Regions from separate parts of the Homo sapiens genome. Here region 2 is linked to region 1. Evidence: promoter capture Hi-C in 16 types of primary human blood cells and fetal thymus (Javierre and others, 2016). All regions are on one chromosome and are shown on one strand. Each heading gives the region's core, a stretch centred on a gene start or on the middle of the fragment in contact. The rest is flanking DNA. Distances are from core to core; before and after follow the strand shown.

The links. Contacts are between HindIII fragments. The CHiCAGO score rates a contact against its expected background, and 5 or more counts as called.
Region 2: a fragment that was not itself captured here is called in contact with the fragment with the promoter of TTC17 in region 1 in 2 of 17 cell types (naive CD4 T cells and fetal thymus); the score reaches 7.9 in naive CD4 T cells.

What each region holds. Positions count from the first base shown.
Region 1 is chr11:43,356,361-43,362,330 of GRCh38, reverse strand. TTC17 (tetratricopeptide repeat domain 17) reads right to left here and starts at 3,411. Exons shown (of 24, transcript NM_018259.6): 1 at 3,218-3,411. The coding sequence starts at 3,376. RefSeq lists a silencer at 3,073-3,152 and an enhancer at 3,283-3,552. The HindIII fragment of the contact is 2,829 bases long and covers 1,002-3,830 here.
Region 2 is chr11:45,343,570-45,349,539 of GRCh38, reverse strand. No RefSeq gene overlaps it. Among named protein-coding and RNA genes, the nearest start is that of LINC02696, 8.8 kb to the left of the region's middle. RefSeq lists an enhancer at 1,729-2,267. The HindIII fragment of the contact is 3,341 bases long and covers 2,010-5,350 here.

The DNA.
Region 1 (5,970 bases), core at 2,162-4,661:
AAAAGTTATAATGGCCGGGCACAGCGGCTCACGCCTGTAATCCCAGCACTTTGAGAGGCCAAGGTGGGCGGATCACAAGGTTTGGAGTTTGAGACCAGCCTGTCCAGTATGGTAAAACCCTGTCTCTACTAAAAATACACACACACACACACACACACACACACACACACACACACACACAAATTAGCCGGGTGTGGTAGTGCATGCCTGTAATCCCAGCTACTCGGGATGCTGAGGCAGGAGAATCACTTGAACCCGGGAGGCGGAGGTTGTGGTGAGCCAAGATAGCGCCATTGCACTCCAGCCTGGGCAACAAGAGCAAAACTCCATCTCAAAAAAAAAAAAAAAAAAAGTTATAATGATGGTTGGACAATTCAGATTTTTAAGTCATAAGTACTTCTTTATGATCACTGTGGAAAACAATGACCCATATATCTAATCTGGGTGTGTTTAATATTAAAGGTTCTCAAAAGGTATGTACCACTCTAATTTTCTAAAAGCTGTTAATCCAGTTAGCCCTTAGCCCTTTGCCTGGTAGTAGGTCACTTTAAAACTGAAATCACACTTATGCTCTCATTCAAATATTGTAACCAAGAATAAGCAGCAAGAATTTGGTATGTCAGGACAAAGTATACAGATGGTCCCCACCTTTCGATGGTTCAACTTATAATTTCTTGACTTTACAATGCTGCAAAAGTGACATGCATTTGGTAGCAACTGTACTGAGTGCCCATATAACCATTCTGTTTTTCACTTTCAGTGAAGTATTCATGAATTACATGAGGTATTTTGATACTTTATTGTAAAAGATGCTGTTAGATGATTTTGCCCAAATTTGGCTAATGTAAGTATTGTGAGCACGTTTAAGGTAGGTTAGGCTAAGCTACAATGTTTGGTAGGTACATTAAATGCATTTTTGACTTACAGTATTTTCGACTTACAATGAGTTTATCAGCACATAACCCCTTCATAAGCTGAGGAGCATCTGTATATACTAAGCTTTTAATTATGTTTCTGAATGTACAAATCTGCAATATATATGGATTTCATACACTAATGTGATCTTTCAAGTCCTTAAGTACAGTATATACAAATATTATAATTAATCACGATCTAAATTGATAGTTTGGATTCTACCTGCATACAAATTATGGCCAGGAAGGGAAGCATGGGTCATGCACAATCAGCTATCAGAGTGGAACTCGGCAGCTCACCACAGCACCCAATTCTTTTACTTTATTTATATGTGGTGCCTTTTCTTCAGATTAAATCCAACTTTCCTCCCCTGGCCTCTTATTGTTACACTGCAGACACCAACCTTATTTCTTCTGGCATAAAATCTTGTGGCTGCCTGAACATAACATTGTAAATGTTATGTATAGCAAAGTATTGGAAAATTCAATGAAAAGGATCACTTAAAAAGTCATGTAATAGAGAAATCTTGCTTTTTAAACTTTAAGCCTAATTACTTAGCTCAGCAGTGACTTGGCAGAGATCCAAAAGATTCTTCAGCTCTTCCCTGCTTCTCTGAGGCAAGTTTCCAGTAACCCCTGCCTTCCCCCATTAATACATATGTATCCAAAGTGCAAAAAGAAGGAATTTGTTAAAAAAAAAAAAAAAATCAGACTCTACTTTCCCATTGCAATGTTAAGTATATACATAAAACATTTCTACCAGCTTTCACTTTTTAGATGGGCTACTTTTTCAGCTGAGTGGTAGGACACCAAAATGGGAAGGAGAAGTCAATGTCATAGAGTATAAATAGCTGTGGCCAAAAACAATATTGCAGAAGAGCCAACAGGAGAAAGGCTCCCCAAAATGCAGCAGGAGTGACTTAATTCCACGTCTTCATAGAGACCTCAGGGAAAACCACTATCAAGAAACAAAAGAAGGGTGGAAGCAACCAGCACTCACATATGGTCTTACAGTGTTTTCTTGGGTTTCTGAAACACATACACATATATTTAAAGTCTCAGATAGTATGGCAATGAAAAGGAAACTGTTCTTTATGTATGTCATATAGAAAACGTTACCCAATAGGAACACGGTCTTTTCTTAGATATGCTGAAAACCACTCATGAATACCTAGGCGGATTTTTAGTTATACTTAACTTACTTGAGATAGAATTTGCAATTACATTACACGGCAAATCTAAATCTAAACCTCACCTTAAACGTTGGAATGTGTTCCTATCATGATTCATTACACACAATCCAAAGGACCAGTAATTTCCCACCACACTAGTTAAAACGTTTTAGATCAGTGGGCTAAATTGCATGGGGCACACAATTCACTTTCTAAATGTTTGCTAGACACTTCAAGATTGTCCTCAAGTGTTCGAAGTCAGTAAGTTTACCAATATTCTGTAGCGGAACACACACACGCACTCGTTAGGCATCAGCAGCATTTACAAAACGCAGGCAATCATAAAGTTATATAAGAAAAGCAGTCTCGCCTCTGAGGAATTAGTTCAGGCATACAAGAATCCAGGAAATCGCATATCCTCCATGCGAGGCTGGGTCACAAGAACTAGGTAAAGAAACAAAGCAAAGTGCACTGGGAAACGAGGGCAGTAACAGCTGAAAAGATGCAGGCAACGCCACCAGCGGCATCTTCAAGCATTCCTTCTGAAGGGGAGTGTTTCTATGTTGTTTCTAATGAGCCACTGCTGACCTGAGTAACGGTACAAGCTGAAACCAACACAACCAGAAACGAAATCCACCATGTGGTAGACGAGACTAGGGGAGCAGCACGAATGGTCCACAGGCTAGGGGTCCAGAAGCTGTCATACCATGGGACTCGCGCACACCCTGGAGCTGCCACCTGCTTTCTATTTCCTCGGGGAGGGCCGGTGACGCGTGAACCCGAGAGGCACCAAAGGCAGGAATCCTGAAATCTGTGATTTCTAAACCCCGAGCTAAAAAAAGGTCCGTAGGGCCCGTCTCCCGCAGCTGGGCGACTCTTCCCCACGCGGCGCGCGGCCCGCGAGGTGGAAGGGTGAGAACTTCTAGGGGGCCAAACGAGGACCAGGAGACAAGTGGGGAGCGGGAAGTGCCTGCCTGGTCCGAATGCAGGGAGTCCGAGGTCGCGGTGCCACCTCCCTGTGAGGGTAGGCTGGGGGCGGGGCCGCGCGGAGCCCAACAGCCAGGGGCCAAGCAGGGTAATCCCCCCGGGGCGAGGGCGGGCACGGGAGAAGAGGGACGCCCCGGCCGCTACCTGCTGCTGGATTTTCCCGTCCTCCGTGACGACCCAGTGCGTGGTGGCGAAGGCCCCTCGTGCCGCCACACTCAGCAAGGCGGAAAGGCTGAGGAGCCAGCCTGGGCCGGAGCAAGGCGGCAGCTCGTACCGGCCACGAACCCCTACTGCCGCCGCCATCTTGCCCCCCCGGCCGGGCCGCTCACACCGGAAGCGGAAGCTAGTCTCCGGCGCCCGCCATCTTGAAGAGGTCGGCCCTGGAGGAGGAGCAGGAGGAGGAGCCGAGAGGGCGTAGCTCGCTGACTACCAAGTTTCCTCCACCTCGGTTTTGGCGGCCAGGAAGCGCGACCTTCGGCTACTCTCCCAGCTTGGCTTCAGGGATGGAGACCGCTTTTTAGTTATTGTTTTTCTGTGGGTGATACGATCTCGGAGCGTGGGAACCGGAGGGAGACAAAAGCAGTGGCTTAGGTGGCGCTTAAGCAGAAGTGAAAGGACTCAATTTTATTGTTTTTTAAATCTTTGTTTTTTCGTTTTATTTCTGGTAGATAGTTGGGGAACAAAAGGTGTGCTTTCGAACCACCTATGGGAAGAGAGGTGTTGCTTTTATTCTTAAAGTCTCACAATAGTGGAAGCTTCAGAATGGAGACGGTTGTTAGTTTAGGGCACCGCTGTCCAGTAGCACTATAATGCGAGCCACGTGTGGAATGTAAAATATAGAGGGAAGTAACCCTACTAGTACATTTTATTTAACTCAAAGTACACAAAATATTAATTCAATGTGGTCTGTACAAATCATTGAGATAGTTTAGTTTTTTTTTTTTTAACTAAGTCTTGGAAATCGGCATGTTACACTGACAGCTTATCTAGTCATATTTCAGGGGCTTAATACCCGCATGTGGCTAACGTACTGGTCAGCACAGGTCTAAGCTAGAGGTCTAGGTCTGGAGACCAGAAACATTGGCATCACCTGGGAGCTTTTTAGACCTGCACATTCTCGGCTCTTCTCCCTCTCCCCCGCAACCTGCTGAATCAGACTACATTTTAACAATAGCCTCAGGTGACTGGTATACATATTAAAGTTTGAGAACCACTTTCTTCTAGTGAACCAACAGGCAGGCAGGCAGGCGTCAAGCTTGGCTGCCAGCTTCTTGCTAGATATGTCATTTTAGGTCTTTCAAGATTGCCCTCTGTGTGTGTTATTTAAGGTTGGTATGCTTTTGGTTTTCTCCTTGGGAAAAGAAGGATGAGAATATTGTTTAACCACTTCTCTACACAAGTGTATGCAGGAGAGCAGTTGCTAAGTGTTTAAACACCACGCTATAGAAATGTAGAAACAACCACAGCATTGGTGTTTTTTTTTTCTTCATTCCAGGAACAGCTTTTCTTAAAGGCCTGAAGACTGAACATTCATTTCATTAAAAATATATGGCTTATTTGCTTTTTGCCTGGTACTCTGATAGTCTCTGGGTATGGAAATGTAACCATTGGGCAGTGTGCAATATAGTGAGATATTATTGGCAGGTTAACAATTAAAATACAGGATAATGGGGGTGTATGAATGCATATGTACAGGAGAGAGCAACCAACCAGGTGAAAAAAAGGTTTGGAGCTCAGGTGCTGGTTCAGGCAGAATAATAAGTGAAAAGGTGAAGTTGGCCGGGCGCGGTGGCTCACGCCTGTAATCCCAGCACTTTGGGAGGCCGAGGTGGATGGATCACTGAGGTCAGGAGTTCAAGACTGGCCTGGCCAAGATGGTGAAACCCCGCCTCTACTAAAAATACAAAAATCAGCCGGGCATGGTGGCGGGCACCTGTAATTCCAGCTACTTGGGAGGCTGAGGCAGAGAATTGCTTGAACACGGGAGGCGGGGATTGCAGTGAGCCGAGATCACACCACTGCACTCCAGCCTAAGTGACAGAGCGAGAATCCGTCTCAAGAAACGAAAAGGTGAAGTCAGTGGCATGTTTTAAGAGTTTCTTGGAGTTTAGACATAGGCAATAGGGAGTGTTTCAGAATTTTAAAATAGAGAAGTGGCAAATGATGGAATCCCTTTTGTCTCAGCATCTTATTTTTGGGGCATAGAGGTCAACCCTATTTCTTGTGTATAAAGCTGACATCATCATCATCTAACATTTCTTGAGTGTTTAATACGTACTGGGTCCTGTACATGCATAGTTCCTATTAATCGTCACAACTTACCAAGCTCTGGCTAGTTAAGTAAGTTGGCCAAGATCATATTGCTAAGTGGTAGAGCTCAGGTTTGGACTCAGATCCACCTGACTCTAGATCTGAGAGCCTGAGAATGAATGAATGTTAGTGAGGAATTTGAGAAAGGCCCCAGCATCACATATTTTGCTATCAGCAATTTCTTTGACCTTCACAAGTTAACCTCTAAAGGGGTGGAATTATAGCTTCTATAGCTTTATTATACCACCTATTTTCTGTAGATGATAACTCTTATCTTTTGGGATCCTGTATTAGTTTTCTAATGCTGTGTAACAATTGCCACAAACTTAGCTTAACACATTATCTGACAGTTTCCTTGGGGCAAAAGTCTTCTGCTGTGGTGTGACTGAGTTCTCTGCTCAGTGTCACAAGGCTCATATCAAGGCTGCAATCTCATCTGAGGCTTGGGGTTCCTCAGTCAAGCTCATTCTTCAAGTCCTTGGCAGAATTCAATTTATTGCCAATGTAGGACTGAGGGCTCCATTTTCTTACTGGCTGCTGATTGTGGCCATTAACATTGAGGCTACCCACAGTTTTCTGCCATGTGG
Region 2 (5,970 bases), core at 2,431-4,930, 2.0 Mb before region 1:
AATCTTAATCTTTGCCATATGTATTTATTTCAGATTCTCCACTTACAAACACAGATCATTTTTTTATCCCAAACCTATTTTCCCCCATTTCCTATATATAAGCACTAGGAAATTGAATTTGGTGTTTTTGATCCCCACGCATAATTTTCTATATTAGTGCAGAAGTCTTTATAAACATTATATAACATAGTTTTGTATTACTTAATATTGTACATAAATGAAGTATCTATCATTCTGTAATTTGCTTTCTTTGTTTAACATATTTATGAATAAATTACATAACTTTAACAAAAACTTAAGGGAGGTATTATTACCATTTTACAGATGGAGAGAGAAACTGAGGTTCACCCTGATTAGGTGAACCATTTCTTGCCAAAGGTGATTATGAAGCCAGGATTGAGCCAGGTCTGACCTGGGTCAAAGCCAGAGCTTTAAACAGTGACCACAGGTACTTTGGGGGAGATTTTCCTCAAGGGCTCCCTTGTTTGTGCTTCCTGGGATTGTCATGAGCAGCACCCTTCCAGGCAATTTGCTCTTCTAGACTGTTCTAGACCACACTGGTTTGTCTGGCTACCTGGCATTCAGGTTGGGTCAGGCATTGCTTTGCCATATCCAGCTGTACTTTGCCGGGATCAAAGATAGTACCTTTGCCCTGCCTTGCTCCTTCTATTAATACTACTCCCTGGTCTAAATAAGGCCTGCCTTTTTTTGTCTAGATAGGGCTTCTTAACCTCTTTCATGTCAGGGATACCTCTGGCAGGGAAGCCTAGGGGCACCTTGGAATAAAACTTTTTAAATGCTGAAGACACATATGATTACAGCCTTATTGAAATACAAAATATATTTTAAAATGGTGATTGAATCATACATATGCTCCTTTTTTTTTTTTTTTGAGATGGAGTCTCCCTCTGTCACCCAAGCTGGAGTGCAGTGTTGCGATCTCAGCTCACTGCAACCTCTGCCTCCTGGGTTCAAGTGATTCTCCTGCTTCAGCCTCCAGAGTAGCTGTGATTACAGGTTCCTGCCACCATGCCTGGCTAATTTTTGTATTTTTAGTTGAGACAGGGTTTCACCATGTTGACTAGACTGGTCTCGAACTCCTGACCTCAAGTGATCTGCCTGCTTCAGCATCCCAAAATGCTGGGACTACAGGCGTGAGCCACCATACCTGGCCGATATATGCTTCTTTATTTATGCTTTTATGTTACAAGGTCTAATAGTGGATCTAATTGCCAATTTTGCTGCACAGATGAGCCTGAGCTTGATTTCAACATATCTGTAGCAACTGTAATACATGAAAATGTCGGTGATTTCTATTGGTGACAATGAGGACTGATAACATTACTATGGTTTGTTGCCTGCTTTCCAAACCAAAGTGCTACATTTCGGTTGGAAGTTAGCAAACATAGATATATTTTTCCTCATTTGAGTTCACAGACCCCTGAATTCCCTCCACAAACATGTTACGGGTCCGTGGACCCCTGGATAAAAGTCACTGGACTAGCACCTTCCCAGAGAACCAGGAATTAGAGGGGCTTGGAAGCAGCTGGTTTTTGGGGCAGACAGAAAGCTGGTCCCAGGGTTCCGTGTTTTATGTTAACGACAATCATCTCTCCGTTTTCCTGATTAAGAGCTGCTGTGGAGCCTCATGCACTATTTGACTTAGCCAGGAACTTCAAAAGCAGATGCCTGACAAGAATAACTCTTTACTCTTAGATTTAGGGCAGAGCATGATAACAAAGTCCTGAGCAAAGCTTTGCAAATGTTCAGTTTTCAGTGATGTAGTATAATTCTGCGGGGCATTTGTTACAAACACATTTTTTTCCAAAGAAAATTGTTTTATGGCTTAATGTGAAAGCAACTCTCCTAGCAGACTCTCGCCTGCCTCACCAAAGCCCCTTGCAGGGCCCCTCTGGTTCCCGACCTCAAAGAATGCCCTGCAGTTTGTGAGGAGCCCACGAGATCTGCTTTAAAAAGGTCAGGCACTATATTTTGTCATTTGTGAAGCTTACCATATTTGCAATCCTGCTCTCAGCCTCCCTGTGGCTCAATTAACTGCTGATGATACCTTCCAGTGTGGCAAGGCCCGAGGCCTTCTCTCTGCCTCATTATTTTATACATTTTGAAACGCTGGCTTTTTAAGTTAGAGATTAATTTTCCTGCACCGAGGGGGGTGTTAGTGGAAGGAAGCATGCTTTTACTTGGCAGGAAAAAAAAATCCTCCAACATGGTCATACCAATTTATACCATACTAGCGATATGTAAGAATTTCAGTTGTTTCATCTTTGTCAGCATTTGATATTTTTCCATCATTTTCATTTCAGCCATTATGTTTTAATTTGCATGTAATGTGTTTATTGGCCATTTGGACACCTTGTTTTCTAAAATGCCTGTTCAAATATTTCACACATTTTTCTATTGAGTTTTATTCCTTTTTTAAAAAATTGATTCACAGGAATTTGTTATATATCCTAAATATAAGTCCACTGTTTGGCTATATGAATTGCAAATATCTTTTCCAAATCTGTAGTTTGCTGTTTTACCCTATTAGTAGTGTCTTTTGATAGGCAAAAGAGCTAATTTTAATAAAGTCCAGTTTACTTATTTCCTTTGTGGGTGGTGCTACTGTTAAGATTTTTTTTTTTAAGAAGTTGGGTAGCCTCGCTGACGTTAAGATGCACTGGTGCAGTGTTTTCGCTGCTTAGCCTGTCCTGTGGAGGGCTTGTGTTCACACGCCAGGCCTGTGTACCCCTGGGAAGGCGCCATGCTTAGAGTAGCACCGTACAAGAAATATATGATGCAAGCCATGTGTGTTATTTAGATTTTTCTAGTAGCCACATTTACAAAAGCAAAAAGTAAAAGATGAAATTAATTTTGATAGTATATTTTATTTAACTAAATATATCTAGTACTCAGGCCATTTCAATGCTTAAAAATTCACTCTGCTCTTTGGGAGACCAAGGCAGGCGGATCATGAGGTCAAGAGATCAAGACCATCCTGGTCAACATGGTGAAACCCCATCTCTACCAAAAAATTAGCCGGGCGTGGTGGTGCGAGCCTGTAGTCACCGCTACTCAGGAGGCTGAAGCAGGGGAGGGGGGCTTGAACCTGGGAGGCGGAGATAGCAGTGAGCCGAGATCGTGCCACTGCACTCCAGCCTGGTGACAGAGGGAGACTCCATCTCAAACAAACAAACAAATTACTGTGCTTTGGTTTTGAAATGAGATTTAAATTTTAGTCACACTAGCCACGTACACATGGTAAGTAGTCACATCTCTCTGACTGTTATCATATTGGACAGTACAGGTTTAAAAGTTGACAATCAGCTCTGGAGGCAAATGACCTGGGTTCTAATATGGCTGTGTCCCTTTATAACAATAGCTAACACCTATGGACTGCTTCCTCCTTAGCAGGCTCTGTCCATAAGAAAATAAAGACACTGAGGGCCTCAGGCATACCAAGTACTGTGCATGATTTATATTATTTAATCCTTCCAAACCATGCGAGGTAGGTAATGTTCTTACCCCCAGTGGTGGTTAATTTTATGTGTCAATGTGGTAGGTTGTAGCACCCAGTTGCTAGGTCAAGCACCAGTCCAGATGTTGCTGGGAAGGTATTTTTTTAGGTGATTTTAGGTGATTAACATTTGAATCAGTAGACTTTGAGTAAAGTACATTACCCTCTTTAATGTGAGTAGGTCTCCTCCAATCAGTTGAAGGCCTTAAGAAAAAAGATTGAGGTCCCGCCAGGAGGACAGAACTCTGCCTCCAGACTGCCTTTGGACTCAAAACTGCAACAATCAACTTCTGCTGGAATTTCCAGACTGCCAGTCACCACTGCAAAGTTTGCATTTTCCAGCCCCCACCATTGCATGAACCAATTCCCTAACATAAAGTCTCTCTCTCTCCCACACTGCTTCCCCTCAGCGCCCCCACACCCACATCCTATTAGTTCTATTTCTCTAGAGAACACTGTCAAATATACTACCCATCCCAATTTCCCTCAATAGGGAAACTGAGGCAGCTTGGCTCCAGAGCTCATGCTTTTAACCTCTGTGCTGCCTCCAGCCATTTGGAAAACTCCTTAACTTATTTAGGTCTCAATTTTGTTATTGGCAAACTAAGATGAGTAGTGCCTACGCAATAGGTTTGTTGTGAGGACTGTTTGAGATGACATAAAGCACCTGGCATGTAGTAAGTACTCAATGCAAAGTATTGTTGCTTGTTGATGTTTTCCATCTTAAGACACTCAAAGCAGAACATATTACTGGTTATACTGTAGATATCAAAGAATTAAAGAGAAGGAAGGGCAAAGTTTAGAAAAGTCTATTGTATGAGATTCACTGATGATCTTTATCACAGGCACTTTAAATTTTTGCCATGCCCATGTCAATAAAAATGGCTATTTTTAAGTGAGTCCCTGCCATCTGCACAACATTTGAATTCCATCATCTCATGAAATCCTCACATGAATCCTACTGGGGAATCATCATTGTCATTTCCCAATTCCCAGTTTAAAGATGAGAAACTGAGGCCGCAAGTGAATCAGAAACTTATCCAGCTTCTAAATGACAATCTCTCAGGGAAATAATTTCCCAGTACCTTCATGTTGTCAAACCATCAGATTATTTCTTTTCTTTATTAATCCTTTACAAAGAGGCTTGTAAGTGAATTGAAATTAACATCAAGTCATTGTAGGGAAATTGAAAACTTAATCATTCCCGTATTCTCCTTCATTTTTATCTGCTGCTGGGTGCATACATTTGTAATTCAGCTTTGAAACTGTCATATAATCTTACAATTTTTTTTTCTTTTGCAATTTTGTGCAGGTAATCCTGAGGGGGATTTTTCATATATTGTAGATGATTAAAATTGAATGTAGCTTATAAAAAAATGAATTGTTAATGACTGAGAAAGCCTTGTGTTCTTTGAAAATATTTGTTGTTAAATGAAAAGAGACTTCAGAATGTCAATATATTTCCCTTTGTTTGTTTTCCCCCTCTTCCTACTTGTATTCTTCCCATACATTTTAAATTGGTGTAATCCACAGATTAATTTTTAGGTATTTCTTTGAGTTATGTTCATAAATGTCAGGTTTTATAGAAAGATTATTTTTTGCAAGTTTTAATACGTTTTTTTCTCCTTCATTCTCCTTTCTTTGATGTCAGGGATGAATAAATCCAGTTTAATATGACTTTCATTTGTGAGGCTTAACATAGAAACCATTGTAAGGCTAAACCAAACCTCCTTCTGTTTTTCAATGATTATCTTTCTCTGTCAAAATGAACCAAGCCCTCTAGTCTGAGGATTTGAAAGAAACAAGTCCTAAGAATAGTCAGAAATCAAAGCTTGCAGGGTGAGCTCAGATTGTAACTAAGTGTTCCTTTATCTTCACCCACACTTCTTTGAAGTGCTTTCCCTAAGCTGGTTACGTTGGATATTGAAGGGAGGGTGTGGATTCCCAAGTGGCAATTCCATCATGTTTATTGGGAGGTTGGATATTATGATAATTATTTTCTCCATGGTCTTTTACCTCTAAGCCATGGTACTTCTATGTACCCGACTTTTGCCTGGTATGGTTACATTGGGATGGTTTAAATAATTTAGACTCTAATTTATGTTGGAGTAGAAATGTTCATAAGTGGGCCATTAACACCTATATTTCAGTGAAAGTGCTGTGTAATGACCTAGGGTATTATTAAATGGCACACTCCCCTGAGATATTGTTCCACTTTCTTTTCATCATCCCTTACCTTTCTCTCATTTTTATGAACAATTCTTTACTCTGTCTCTTGGAGGGCTAACAGCAGACAGAAGAACTGCAGATAGTGTGCTTGAAAGAGTCTGGATTTATTATGCTCAAATTACAATCTATGCATATTTAATCAGCTCTTATTATATGCAATGCTTTGCTCTAGACCCTGCATATAAAGATCAGCATTGTCCCTGGGGACAATAGCCATCCCTGGG